Linked DNA regions of Homo sapiens: region 1 is linked to region 2. The links are contacts of gene promoters, found by promoter capture Hi-C in human tissues and cell types (Jung and others, 2019). All regions are on one chromosome and are shown on one strand. Each heading gives the region's core, a stretch centred on a gene start or on the middle of the fragment in contact. The rest is flanking DNA. Distances are from core to core; before and after follow the strand shown. Region 1 holds the start of SCGB1D1 (secretoglobin family 1D member 1). Region 2 holds the start of ASRGL1 (asparaginase and isoaspartyl peptidase 1).

Region 1 (6,144 bases), core at 457-2,956, 140 kb after region 2:
ACAATAGTGGGGAGAGGTTCAGCAGACAAACACGTGAACAAAGGTCTTTGCATCATAGACAAGGTAAAGGATTAAGTGCTGTGCTTTTAGATATGCATACACATAAACATCTCAATGCTTTACAAAGCAGTATTGCTGCCCGCATGTCCCACCTCCAGCCCTAAGGCAGTTTTGCCCTATCTCAGTAGATAGAACGTACAATCAGGTTTTATACCGAGACATTCCATTGCCCAGGGACGGGCAGGAAACAGATGCCTTCCTCTTGTCTCAACTGTAAGAGGCATGCCTTCCTCTTATACTAATCCTCCTCAGCACAGACCCTTTACGGGTGTCGGGCTGGGGGATGGTCAGGTCTTTCCCTTCCCACGAGGCCGTATTTCAGACTATCACATGGGGAGAAACCTTGGACAATACCTGGCTTTCCTAGGCAGAGGTCCCTGCGGCCTTCCGCAGTTTTTGTGTCCCTGGGTACTTGAGATTAGGGAGTGGTGATGACTCTTAAGGAGCATGCTGCCTTCAAGCATCTGTTTAACAAAGCACATCTTGCACTGCCCTTAATCCATTTAACTCTTGAGTTGACACAGCACATGTTTCAGAGAGCACGGGGTTGGGGGTAAGGTTATAGATTAACAGAATCTCAAGGCAGAAGAATTTTTCTTAGTACAGAACAAAATGGAGTCTCCTATGTCTACTTCTTTCTACACAGACACAGTAACAATCTGATCTCTCTTGCTTTTCCCCACAGTTTTTGTTTTGTTTTGTTTTCTTGAGACGGAGTCTCACTCTGTCGCCAGGCTGGAGTGCCGTGGCACGATCTCGGCTCACTGCAACCTCCGCCTCCCAGGTGCAAGTAATTCTCCTGCCTCAGCCTCCTGAGTAGCTGGGACCACAGTTTTGCGCCTCTATGCCCAGCTAATTTTTGTATTTTTAGTAGAGACGGGGTTTCACCATGTTGGCCAGGATGGCCTCGATCTCTTGACCTTGTGATCTGCCTGCCTTGCACTCCCAAAGTGCTGGGATTACAGGTGTGAGCCACCCCACCCAGCCGAATCAGTTGTTTTAAGTCACCAAGCTTGTGGAGGTTTTTTGCAGCAGACACAGAACACCAAGCCAGGAACCTGTGGCGTCTCCCTGTGTCCTGGTCAGGGGACTTGCTGGGTGGGTGCCTTAGCCTGGATGGGCTCATGGAAGGGAGAGCAGGTTGAGGGCGGACCCTGTGTTCAGTTTTACATCCTGCTCCTGAAATGAGTGTGGAATGTGCGCTTGGAGCTGTCCAATTGGCAGGGGGTGCTGGTCTCTGGAGCTCTTGGGGTGGCTTGAGGGAGGGAAGGAAGCATTCACCTCAGGTGCTGGTGAGTGATGCAGACGCTGAGGAGTCCTCTGAGTGTGGGGAGTGAACAAATGTGAAATCCAGGTTGAAACCTGGAGATGTCCTCAAATTATGGTAAATGGAAAAGAAAGTATACTGGACATGAGAGGGGAGATAAACCACAGTGCAGAGGTGGCACCAAGCAGGCTGACTGTGGGTCTGAGGGGACATCCACTAGGGTCCCTGCTAGGTGGGAACCCTGGGCCTGGACAATCAGGCAGGCTTGGGGTTCCCTCAGTACAAGACCAGCAGGAACATTGTAATTCCTGTGTCCTCATTACCATGGTTTTCATTTACGGCTGCAGGATGGAAAATCTGTAAGGAATGCAGGATGATTCCTACCAAATATTTCCTTCTGGGATGCCTGGACTCAGGCCCCATTGATAACGGGATGCTGGTTCTCTGGAGTTGATTGTCAGCCAAAGGCCACTCCCCTATGGAAACCACTCTCAACTCAAGGCCCAAGACTGCAGGATAACACGACCAGTGGAGAAGTTCAGGGCAAGTGATTTATTAGAGCAAGACGTTGAAACCTTTACATTCTGCAGTGAAGATCAGGGTATCATTGAAAGATGGTGGAAACTAGCATTAAAAACTTTTTACATCTCAGCGATCACATTTCTCTGCTATTTTTCCCTGAAATAGAAAAGGAAAGAAAGGAAGGTGAGGTCGGTCATGCAGCTCCTGGAGACAACAGGTTAACATCCAAGTGGCCGATGGAATTCTGCTCCCAAAGACAATTGAAGGGTAGAGGCAGGAACCCAGTGTGTGTGGGAAACCAGGGCCTAGACCTAGACCAGCCTTTCCTTGCCAGGCCAATAGCCCTGGGGGGACACAAGCATAAGGCCCAGGGTCCTCATAGAGGGGGGACAGAGCAGAGCAGCAAGAGGTTATTGTCTGGGCTGTCCCAGGACTTGGAGTCTCCTGTTCCCCGCAATGAAAGACCCAGTGCTGAGAGGTTGGTCAGGGCTGGGAGGGCCTCTGGGAAGCTTGGCTTCCAGGAGACTCCAGCCTCCCCATGTGGGAATTCTGCCTCAGGGCCTGAGCACCTCAATCCTGAGCCTGCAGCTTCCATGAGCATTTGCAGCTAAACCTCAGGACAGCAACCCAGAGGCAGCCAGGCTGAGAGGCCCCTGGAAAACCTCTGATTTCTTGAGAAAGACAGAGTGAGAACATCCCGCTTCCATGGCACTGCAGGAGGTAGAGTAGCGAGGGTCTTGGCCCACTGGCCGTGGTCAGGAGAGCATCGTGGGTGAGGAGGGGAGCGTGGAGTCTGAGGAGCTGGGAGGGGCTCCTTCCTGGTTCTGCAGAAGCTGCAGAGAAGTCCAGCCCTCCAGCGCAGCATCTGCAGGAGCCCCTGCTCTAGGTCCCTCCCTGCCTTCTTCTCCCTGTTCAAGGCTCCCACACTCCCCAGTACATTCCACAGTGACTGTGTGAGGTCCACTTGGCCTCAGGAAAGTCCCCAGGTGGAGAGACAGTTGTGCTTGGCCCTTCACCACCCCTGCCTGGACCCAGGCTCACTCCCCATGTCCTCAGCACACTCTGGGGACACGGCATCCAGGTAGGTGACCTGAGAAGGAGGAACATGCAGGAGGCTGTGTGCAGCTGAGTTGAATTCTGCAGGTGAAATGGTAGCACCCACCCTGTGGTCCCAGGTGACCTTCTCAAGCGGTGACCAGTAAGGCAGGTGCCCCACCACCTGTGTCCCTCACAGAGCAGCAAGCAAGCTGACCTCACTTCACACTGTGCCGCTGACCAGAAGCCTGGACACATGAAAGAGACAGAAATTACCAATGTTTTTGTAATTAGCACTCTTTTCTCATAGGCCATCGTATCCACGCATTTCTTCACTTCCATCTTGGCTGCAACAGCTTCCAGAGGTGCCTTAAATTTGGCAAGTTGGAACTTGAACACAGGTTTTCCAGCTAATAAGAAGCCTGTGATTTCAGAACCAAGAGCTTGGCAGACCACTGCATTTGCTGGAGCAAAAGAATAAAAATATAATTTGTGTAAGGAAATCAGTGTTTCTCCCATGCCTCCCTGATGTCAGACCAGACAGGAACCCCAGGGTTTTAGGCTTCTATTCAATAACTATGCCAATGACAATGTCAGACCCAGGAGGTTGTGACTTCCTTGAGGTCACACAGCAAAGGGTAGAGCTAGAACTGGAGAACCAACTTCCTGATCACTCATTCAGTCTTTGTTTTTTTTTTAAAGCACACTCATTACTTTCCAAAGCTTCTCTGGATGGATGGCCAACGTTCTCTTTTCTAGATTTGAAAATAATCACTTTTCTATGCCAGTTAAGTGACACTTTATTAGTCTTGGACATTGGTGAAGAGGAGGCTTTGAGTAATCAAATTTTGAAGTGGAATGGTAGAGTCAGAATCCTATCAGAAATTAGAGAAATGAGTAAATCTGGAACAGAAGAAGTTAAAATTATTGAAATGTTGAAGGTGATGTTTTGAGAACAAGTTGTAGAATTTAGGCTTATGTGATTCAATACAGACAGAGCTAAAAGGTAAACAAATTAAAACAAAATAAAATAATGTGAATCAGTTTTAACACACATTAGAAGCTTATACAGGAAATTGTACTTGGCCCATATTCTGCAGCAGCATCTAGAATATTTGGAGAGGATGAGAGGAGGGAACTGAGGCTCATTCCTGCTCCCACTGGGAATTTTGGAAAGACCTGGAGTAATCATTTTGCTTGGTCTGGAATCTCCATTCACCTAAGTCTTTTGCAAACACCATGCATCCAGAAAGCGCCCCACCATGCTCAACATGACCCCTGACTACCCGACTTCAAACTGTGGGGAGAATTTGGAGAGGGTAGGATCGGGGTGTCACAGGGAAACAGGGAGAGGTTCAGAAAAGAAGAGGAAAGAGAAAAATCAGAGTCTGGATCGGTCCTGACAGGGGAAAGGAAAGTACCCAAATGAACTGGGGAAAAATCAGCCAGAATTAATTTTAGAAAAATAGAAGTTCTGAGGCTAACCATTGTAGTATTTCTACCACCATTACGGTAGGACCCCTAGAAGATATATTGAGTGCTGCTTATTCTAAGAATTCATTTGCAGGCTTCTTATTGAGAGAATCAGAAAGCACCATCTCTTCTTGGACTGAGAGTTCTCCAAGGATCCTTCGAGATGTAACATTTTATGAGTCTGAATTTACAATGTAAGAAGCTGTGAGCTCAATTGGCACCTAAAGGTCTGGGGACGAGAATGTCTGACAGTACAGTGATTGGCTTCACATCCACAGCTAGACCCTTGGCACAATAATCCCACTCCATTCCCATTGCCACTCCCGGAAGAAGCTCTAAGCACCAGAGATAGGAGGAGGCGCGGGGAGGGTGAGCATCTTGCCCACGGTGAAAGGGCTGAGAAGTGGCTGAGCCCAGAGTCACCCCAGACCTCACATTACATCATCTGACACAGATCCCATCCAAGAGTGAAGCTCAGGCAGAATTCCTAACGTTCGCCTGCATTGATTTTCTGCAAAACTTCCTAGGTACTGGGGATTTGATGAAATGAGGCCCGAGCTTTATGAGCAGTTCCTTCAACAAGCACAGGATAAGGTTTGGAATTTTGGTTTGTTCCAGACCCCAACCTTAACCTTAATAGGTGACCTCGTGCTCAGAGAAGGGTGTGTCCCAAGGGCTGGTGCTGGACTCATGACTGATGTACTCACCCCGGTAGCAGCAAAGGGCCAGCGTGAGCAGCAGGAGACACACCGACAGCCTCATGGTGGCTTATTCTGCTGTGAGCTCGGCTTTAACCAATGATGAGTGATTTAGACTCAGCCCCGGGAGCCTGTGGAGCCGTGGAGCCCAGGGCTATTTGTACCTAGGGAGCCTGGCTGGTCCTGCCCACATGGGCATCTGGCAGGTGATGAGGCCTGGCTTCCAGCCCTCCCTTCCTAGCCAGGGCTGCTGCCATCCATCAGTGTCACATCCCCACACCTCCCTGCATCCTGAGTGGGGCGGAGCACGGGAGGGCAGCCCTGCAGAAACTCTGCTCTGTGCTCCAGGTGAGTGTCCAGGTGCCTCTGGCAATGTTCCCTGGAACCTCAGTTTGCTTTTGGGCTTTTGAGGATTATCTCTCTGTTCTTTATGTCAGTGCAAGGGCAAATGTGAGTTCTCATTTCAGGAGGACAGAAACCGGGGGTGCAGGAAGCTAGGGGCTGTGGTTTGGTTATAGGAGAGCAGGCACAGAAGAGACCCCACTTTGACCTCCACTGCATGTCTGACAATCAGCCACACGTGTTTCAGCTGCACATAGATCAAGTCTGAACCAGACCTATCCTCCCACTCAGCCCCTTCCATCCCCACCATCTTCACCACATAGGTACCTAAAACATAGCTGCATACACCCCACCTTTGGAGGATTTCCTTGGGGAAAACAACCACTCCCCCTGTCCTCTACTCTGTCTCACTCCAAGATCTGTGTCTTTATTTATGGGTGGAGTTGTCAACATAGCACAGGTTCAAATTTTCTGTCTACTAAAAGCAAGCCTCCAGTGACCTCTAGCCACCCATATCTCCTCATAGGGCTGATGGGATGATTAAATTGCCCAACTTTTTTTACCCAAGGAGCTGCTGGGGTGTCTGGAGGCAAACAGGCATCAGAAATACTGGTCTTCGCTTCTAGGCAGGGACGATAATGGAAAGGAAGAGATGGATGAACAGGGTGGGTGGTCACTTCCCTCTAACCTCTGGGCTCAAGTTTTCCACTTCTAACCCAGCTCTGCTGCCTGGGTCATCTCATTGTT
Region 2 (5,942 bases), core at 1,950-4,449:
TGAAAGATGAGAGGGCAGACGTTGAGAAGGAAGGCCTCTGGATACAGAGCAAAAAAATGAGAACTAGCTGCTCCAATTCCCTAATCTGTGCTTCCCAATGCATGCAGATGACAAATTGTTAGAATAAGAGATGGTCGGAAACCAGAATGACCCATTTCAAATGAAGGTCCTGTGTAAATAAGTGAGGGTTTGACAGCCCAGGGGGTGCTGAGTGCTAAGAAGCGTAAGGTTTAACAAGTCACCCACAGAAAGAGCTGGCTGCTCCCTCTGCTGGCAAAGTCAGTGCCTATCTGGTAAATTCTGGCTCTACAAATGGAGCCATGAAAGCACACTATTAGGTCTCATTTTAAATTCAGATGAACTTAATTTTATTTTCAGAGACAGAGTCTCACTCTGTCACCCAGGCTGGAGTGCAGTGGCGCAGTCTTGGCTCATTGCAGCCTTGACCTCCTGGGGCTCAAGGAATCTTCCTACCTCAGCTTCCTGAGTAGCGGCGGCTACAGGCTTGTGCCACCACGCTCAGCTGATTTTTGTATTTTTTTTTTTTTGTAGAGATGGGGTTTTGCCATGTTGCCTAGCCTGGCATTGAACTCCTGAGCTCAAGTGATCCGCCCACCTCAGCTTTCCAAAGTGCTGGGATTACAGGCGTGAGCCACTGCACCGGTCTCAGGAAGAATTACACAATTTTTCACAAGTGTTAAAGAGTGCTGCGTAAAGGGGACAGAACAAGAGTAAATATTTGATGATTAATTAAGATTTCCTGAAATTCTTTTCCCTGACAGATGGGTGGTATAATTCCAGGAAGTATTTCAATCTCTAGCCTAGATCTTAGGTTTGCCATTTTAAAACAAAGAGATGAATGTCTTCCACCAAGTTAATCTGTTTATGCCTTAGTCTGATCTGAGAAATGAGGATAATAATTATGCCTAACTTATACCTAACTCATTTAACTCAACTGAGTTTAAGTGATTAACTCATAAGTGAATCATTTAATGTTCATTATGAGTTAACTTGAGTTAGTTTAACACAAGTTAACCAACTTAAGAGAGTTACATGATCAACTCATTTAATGTTCAGATTCAATAAATCAAGCAAATTTCTTAGACCACTGCCTGATACATGGTAGATACTCATATTAGCTATAATGATTAGTATTCCAAAAAAGGGTGGACTGAGTGAAAGAAGCGAAACACAAAGGAATACACTCTGCACTCCAAAGTTAACCTGAAAACTTTGGAACCTTGTCGGGGGAGGTAGGACATGCCTCATTATTCCCTCCTCCCTTTTGGAATTCAGGCCCAGCTGACCAGCACTAACATTAAAACAGATCTTAAGACTGACAAAGCAGACTTTGTAGCAATAAGATACCAAATTCCAGCGGGACTCTAGTATGACATCACATGACAGATAGCAAGCCCTGAAAGTGAAGTATTTTACCCCAAATTACGTTTCTTCGCCATATCTTGAAATAGTCCTGCAAAGCTAAAGCTATCTCTTGTGGGGAAAATCTACATTCTGAAGAGAATCCCCTTCCTTTTCTAGGCCTTTTTCCTGATTCAGGAGAGAATCAACTCTGATAAGAAACATTTACAATTTATTCTCTCAATAGACTGCTACCTGGAGACTTCCTCTGCCTAAGGGAAATCTTGGTCTCCTCAACCTCTTATCTTAATGCAGACATTCCCTTCTTTTTTCAGTTTTTTTTTTTTTTTTTGAGATAGTCTCGCTCTGTCGCCCAGGCTGGAGTGATCTCGGCTCACTGCAACCTCTGCCTCTCAGGTTCAAGCTATTCTCCTGCCTCGGCCTCCCGAGTAGCTGGGGTTACAGGCTCCTAGCACCACGCCTGGCTTTTTTTTTTTTTCTTTTGTATTTTTAGTAGAGGTGGCTTTTCACCTGTTAGCCAGGCTGGTCTCGAACTCCTGACCTCAGGTGATCCACCCGCCTTGGCCTCCCAAAGTGCTGGGATTACAGGCGTGAGCCACCGTGCTAAACCGCCTTCTATTAATTCTATCTGCAGCCACAAGTCCTTATATAATCCAGACATTCCCTTCTGTGGATTCCAGGTGTTTGGACAAAACTTTAAATCAATTGTTCATCAGAAAATCTTTGAATCTTAACTATGACCTGGAAACCACTCCCCCTCCCCCAGTAGTCTCACCTCTCCAGATGGAACCAATGTATGTCTTGTATGTACTGATTGACATCTTATGTCTCTCCAGAAGCACACATTCTCAGGATTTCCCAAGAGCTGTATCAGAGGCCATTGGTCACTCATATTTGCCTCAGTATAAATCTCTACAAATATTTTAGCGTTTGACTCTTTTCAGCACAGGTAGAAAAATTAAATATTGTTTCTTTTTTACATACTTAGTTTCACCCCAAAGCTCATTAGATTCCCTAACACTATGTAGGTTCTATTTATTCTGAAGAAGGAGCTTGACCTGACTCACATTATTTACTAGCTGAAAGGCACATTTACCTGCGTTGAACTCGGGATCGTCTTCCAGGGCGACGACAGCTCCCTCTACGGCATCCACGGCGCTCCCGCCCTCCCGGAGGATGCCGTAGCCCACGGTGGCGGCTCTGACCATGCCCTGGTGCACTCGCTCCTTCCGATCCTTGGAGATGGGACCGGCTCCGCCGCCGTGGACCACTACGATGGGATTCATGTCGGCGGATCCTAGGCAGCAGGAAGGCGAAAGCGTCGTCCAAAGCCAGCCCAAGGAAGCCGCGCGGGTACAAGGTCCTCGGGAGACCCTGTGGGGACAATGCCCAGTCTCTGTTCTGAACGGCTGGGTTCGCAGCTGGGGGTGGGTAGGGGCGGCTCGGTCGAGCTTGGTACGAAAAGCCCAGGGGCCCGGCGCCCTCCCGCGTTCCTCTCCGCCCCCGGCCCGGACCTGCTGGGGGTCTCAGTTTCCCCGGGGACGTTAACCCGCGCCCACCGCCGCCCGCCTCCAAGCCCCGGCGCCGAAGGAGGATGTCTATTTCGCCTTCGGGAAAATGTCTATTTTCGTTTATTTCATTCGCCCTCCCGCGTCTCGGGCGGCTGCTCCGGGAGGGCCGCCGACTTACCCAGGGCACCGCAGGACGCGGACGCCGAGACCTCAAGCTGGGTCGAGCCAGCCCCGCAGCCGCCCGGTACCGCCGCTCCCCGACGCCGGCTCGAAACCGCTCAGCCCGCAACCGCTCTGGTCACAACGGTTCTGCGCCTGCGCACGAGGGCGGGACCGCCGCACGGCCCAGTTCCCATAAAGCCCCGAAGGCCGGCTGGCGCGCACCTGTCTCACTCCTCTCAAGAGTCTACGCTCTTGGCCGGCCCGAGCTTCCTGGTGGCACGCGGGGAACCTCCTGCTCCTGACCAGGCTAGGGGCTGGGTGGTTGGGTTGGTGGCGAGAAGCGTGAAGTGGCATGCCACGATTTTGTAATTGCAGATTGAAAAGCAACGCTAGGCTGTGCGCAGTGGCTCATGCCTTGTAATCCCAGCACTTTGAGAGGCCGAGGCGGACGGATCACCTGAGGTCGGGAGTTCGAGACCAGCCTGACCAACACGGAGAAACCCTGTCCCTACTAAAAACACAAAATTAGCTGGGCGTGGTGGCGCATGCCTGTAATCCCAGCTACTCTGGAGGCTAAGGCACGAGAATCGTTTGAACCTGGGAGGCGGAGGTTGCGGTGAGTGGAAATCGCGCCATTGCACTCCAGCCTGGGCAACAAGAGTGAAACTCCGAATCAAAAGAAAAAAAAATTATACTGGGACAATGGGCATAAACAGGGACAGATCCAGGCAAACTGTGATTGATCTCCTGTGGATAGGAGAGTCCTTTCCCTTCTTGTTTACCCACAACTGATAACATATTTTACCACTCTTGGGAATTCCCTTTACTCCTGTTTTACCTTCGTTTCCTGCCTTAAGGCCCAGTTTAAATGAACCCCTCCTGCAAAGCCTTCTCCCTGGCACCCCACTAAGGATCAGTCATTCCCTTTCTAGTGACCTATTGTTAGAGATTACCACAAATTTATTGGCTTCAAACAACACACATTATCTTACAGTTCTGGTGGTCAGAAATTCAAACTGGGTCTGCAGGGTTGAGTTCCTTCGGGAAGCTCCAGAAGAGAATCTGTCTTTTCTTGCTTCTACAAGCTGCCTGTATCCTTGGCTCATGGCCTCATCCTCCATTGCCAAAGCCAACAGCCTAGCATCTTTAACTCTCTCTCCCTCTGGCCTGTTTCTGCTGCTACGTCACTTCTCTCTCTGTCACCATCATCACGATTTTCTTTTCTGACTCTGACTCTCCTGCCTCCTTCTTAAAGGAAGTCCCTTGGGATGACATTGGGCCCACCCAGATAACCCAGGATAATCTCCCTTTCTTACAATTTCTATTCTCATCTGCAAAGTCCCTTTTGCCATGTGAGGAGTGTTCACAGGTGGAGATTCGGATGTGACACCTTTGAGGGCCGTTATTCTGTCTCCCACACTCACCTCTTGGAAGAGGGTTATTTTAGCACGTCTCAACTGGTCGTGAGCCTAGTTGTGTCATCATAATACAGCTCACCATCATTTGGTTTCAGCTATTTATAGGAACCTGAACCCTACCCTATGCCTAGCCCTAACTCAAACCCCATCTCTACTGTTTTTCCTGATTGATCTGGAATTCAGTGATCTGGCTGAGGCTGGGGAAGGTGGCTGGTGGCCCAAGCAGGTAGAATGTTGGTTTCCATTTGATCCTCCCATCTCAGCCTCATGCGTTTATCTACTTCTCTGATGGGCTTCGTATTCCCCATCCCAATCCAAAGTCTCTTAGATAAATTCTCTAGAAAATAAACTTCTGGTCTTTGAGGAGGAAAGAGGAAGCATCTTTTTGTCCGGCTCTGTGGGATAGGAGAAGGAATCTGGCTAACTCCTCTGTAGACGATGTTCCATCAACAATCATTTTATGGATTAAGGATTGTATTCAACTGTCCCTGACGAAACGTGACCACAGTGGTTTAACCAGATAACTGTTGATTTGAAAACAACAATAACAACAACAACAACAACAACAACAACAAGACATCTAGTGGTTGCTGCCCAGGCTGGTGCAGCAGCTCCAAGGTGACACAGATGTCCCATCTCCTTCTCTTCCCTTCAGCATGTGGCTTTCACATTTATGGTGCTCCTAGGCACCTTGATCACTATTGGGGCAGAAGGAATGGGGAAGGGCAAAGGGAAGAAGGCTTTTGCCAGCTCCCCTTTGTTCCTTTAATTCAGGAAAGCTCTCTAGCTTTCCTAGAAGTCCTCCAAGTGGACTTTTATTGGCCAGAACTGGATTGGGGGGCTGCCCCTAGTGGCAAGAGAGTCTGAGTTTTTATTTTAGCAGGGTACATCATGGCCCTGGATAAAATCAAGGTCTCTTGGCAAGAAGGAAGGGTGACAGGCTATTGGAGAGACAACTGGGAACACCTGCCACTCCTGCCTCCCCATCTTTGAGATTCCTGTGTGTCTAAGCCCTGAGTCTCTCAAGCGTTCTCCAGAACAAATGGATTCACCTCTCAAGTAGATTACAACTTCCTTTAATCTGCCATTTGTTATTCATCTTCCAAAGTGACCTTTTTTACCTGCCATTGTCATCTCTCCCATTCTTCCTGTCTTTGTGGGTAGTATTCTTTTTAAGATTGTTTACTATCATTTTAGAGGGATTTTTGAAGGGAGGAGTAACCCATTTGTGTGACTGGGGAGGTTGACTAGAGCCCCAAGGAAGTGATTCTAACTACAGTGGCTCTGGATGTTCTAGGAGGAGGAGGGTTGGGTTAGGGAATGCCAGAGTTGGGGAGAGGAGGTGGGACCAGAAAAGGAGGGACTGGGCAGGGACTGGGCATTTCTGGGTCAGAAATGAAGGAGGCATATTAGAGAGATTGACGAAGAAGAAATGGGGGTGGGAGGGAGGAAGAGAAGAAAAAAAGAA

What was found. Contacts are between HindIII fragments. The study calls those that stand out against the background at their distance.
Region 1: a fragment that was not itself captured here is called in contact with the fragment with the promoter of ASRGL1 in region 2 in 2 of the 25 tissues and cell types used here (H1 embryonic stem cells and lymphoblastoid cells).

What each region holds. Positions count from the first base shown.
Region 1 is chr11:62,189,260-62,195,403 of GRCh38, reverse strand. SCGB1D1 (secretoglobin family 1D member 1) reads right to left here and starts at 5,188. Exons shown (of 3, transcript NM_006552.2): 1 at 5,065-5,188; 2 at 3,161-3,348; 3 at 1,865-2,005. The coding sequence starts at 5,119. The coding sequence ends at 1,976. RefSeq lists an enhancer at 2,634-3,134. The HindIII fragment of the contact is 4,142 bases long and covers 1-3,777 here.
Region 2 is chr11:62,334,705-62,340,646 of GRCh38, reverse strand. ASRGL1 (asparaginase and isoaspartyl peptidase 1) reads right to left here and starts at 3,199. Exons shown (of 7, transcript NM_001083926.2): 1 at 3,073-3,199; 2 at 2,480-2,757. The coding sequence starts at 2,669. RefSeq lists an enhancer at 2,619-3,288. The HindIII fragment of the contact is 36,513 bases long and covers 1-5,942 here.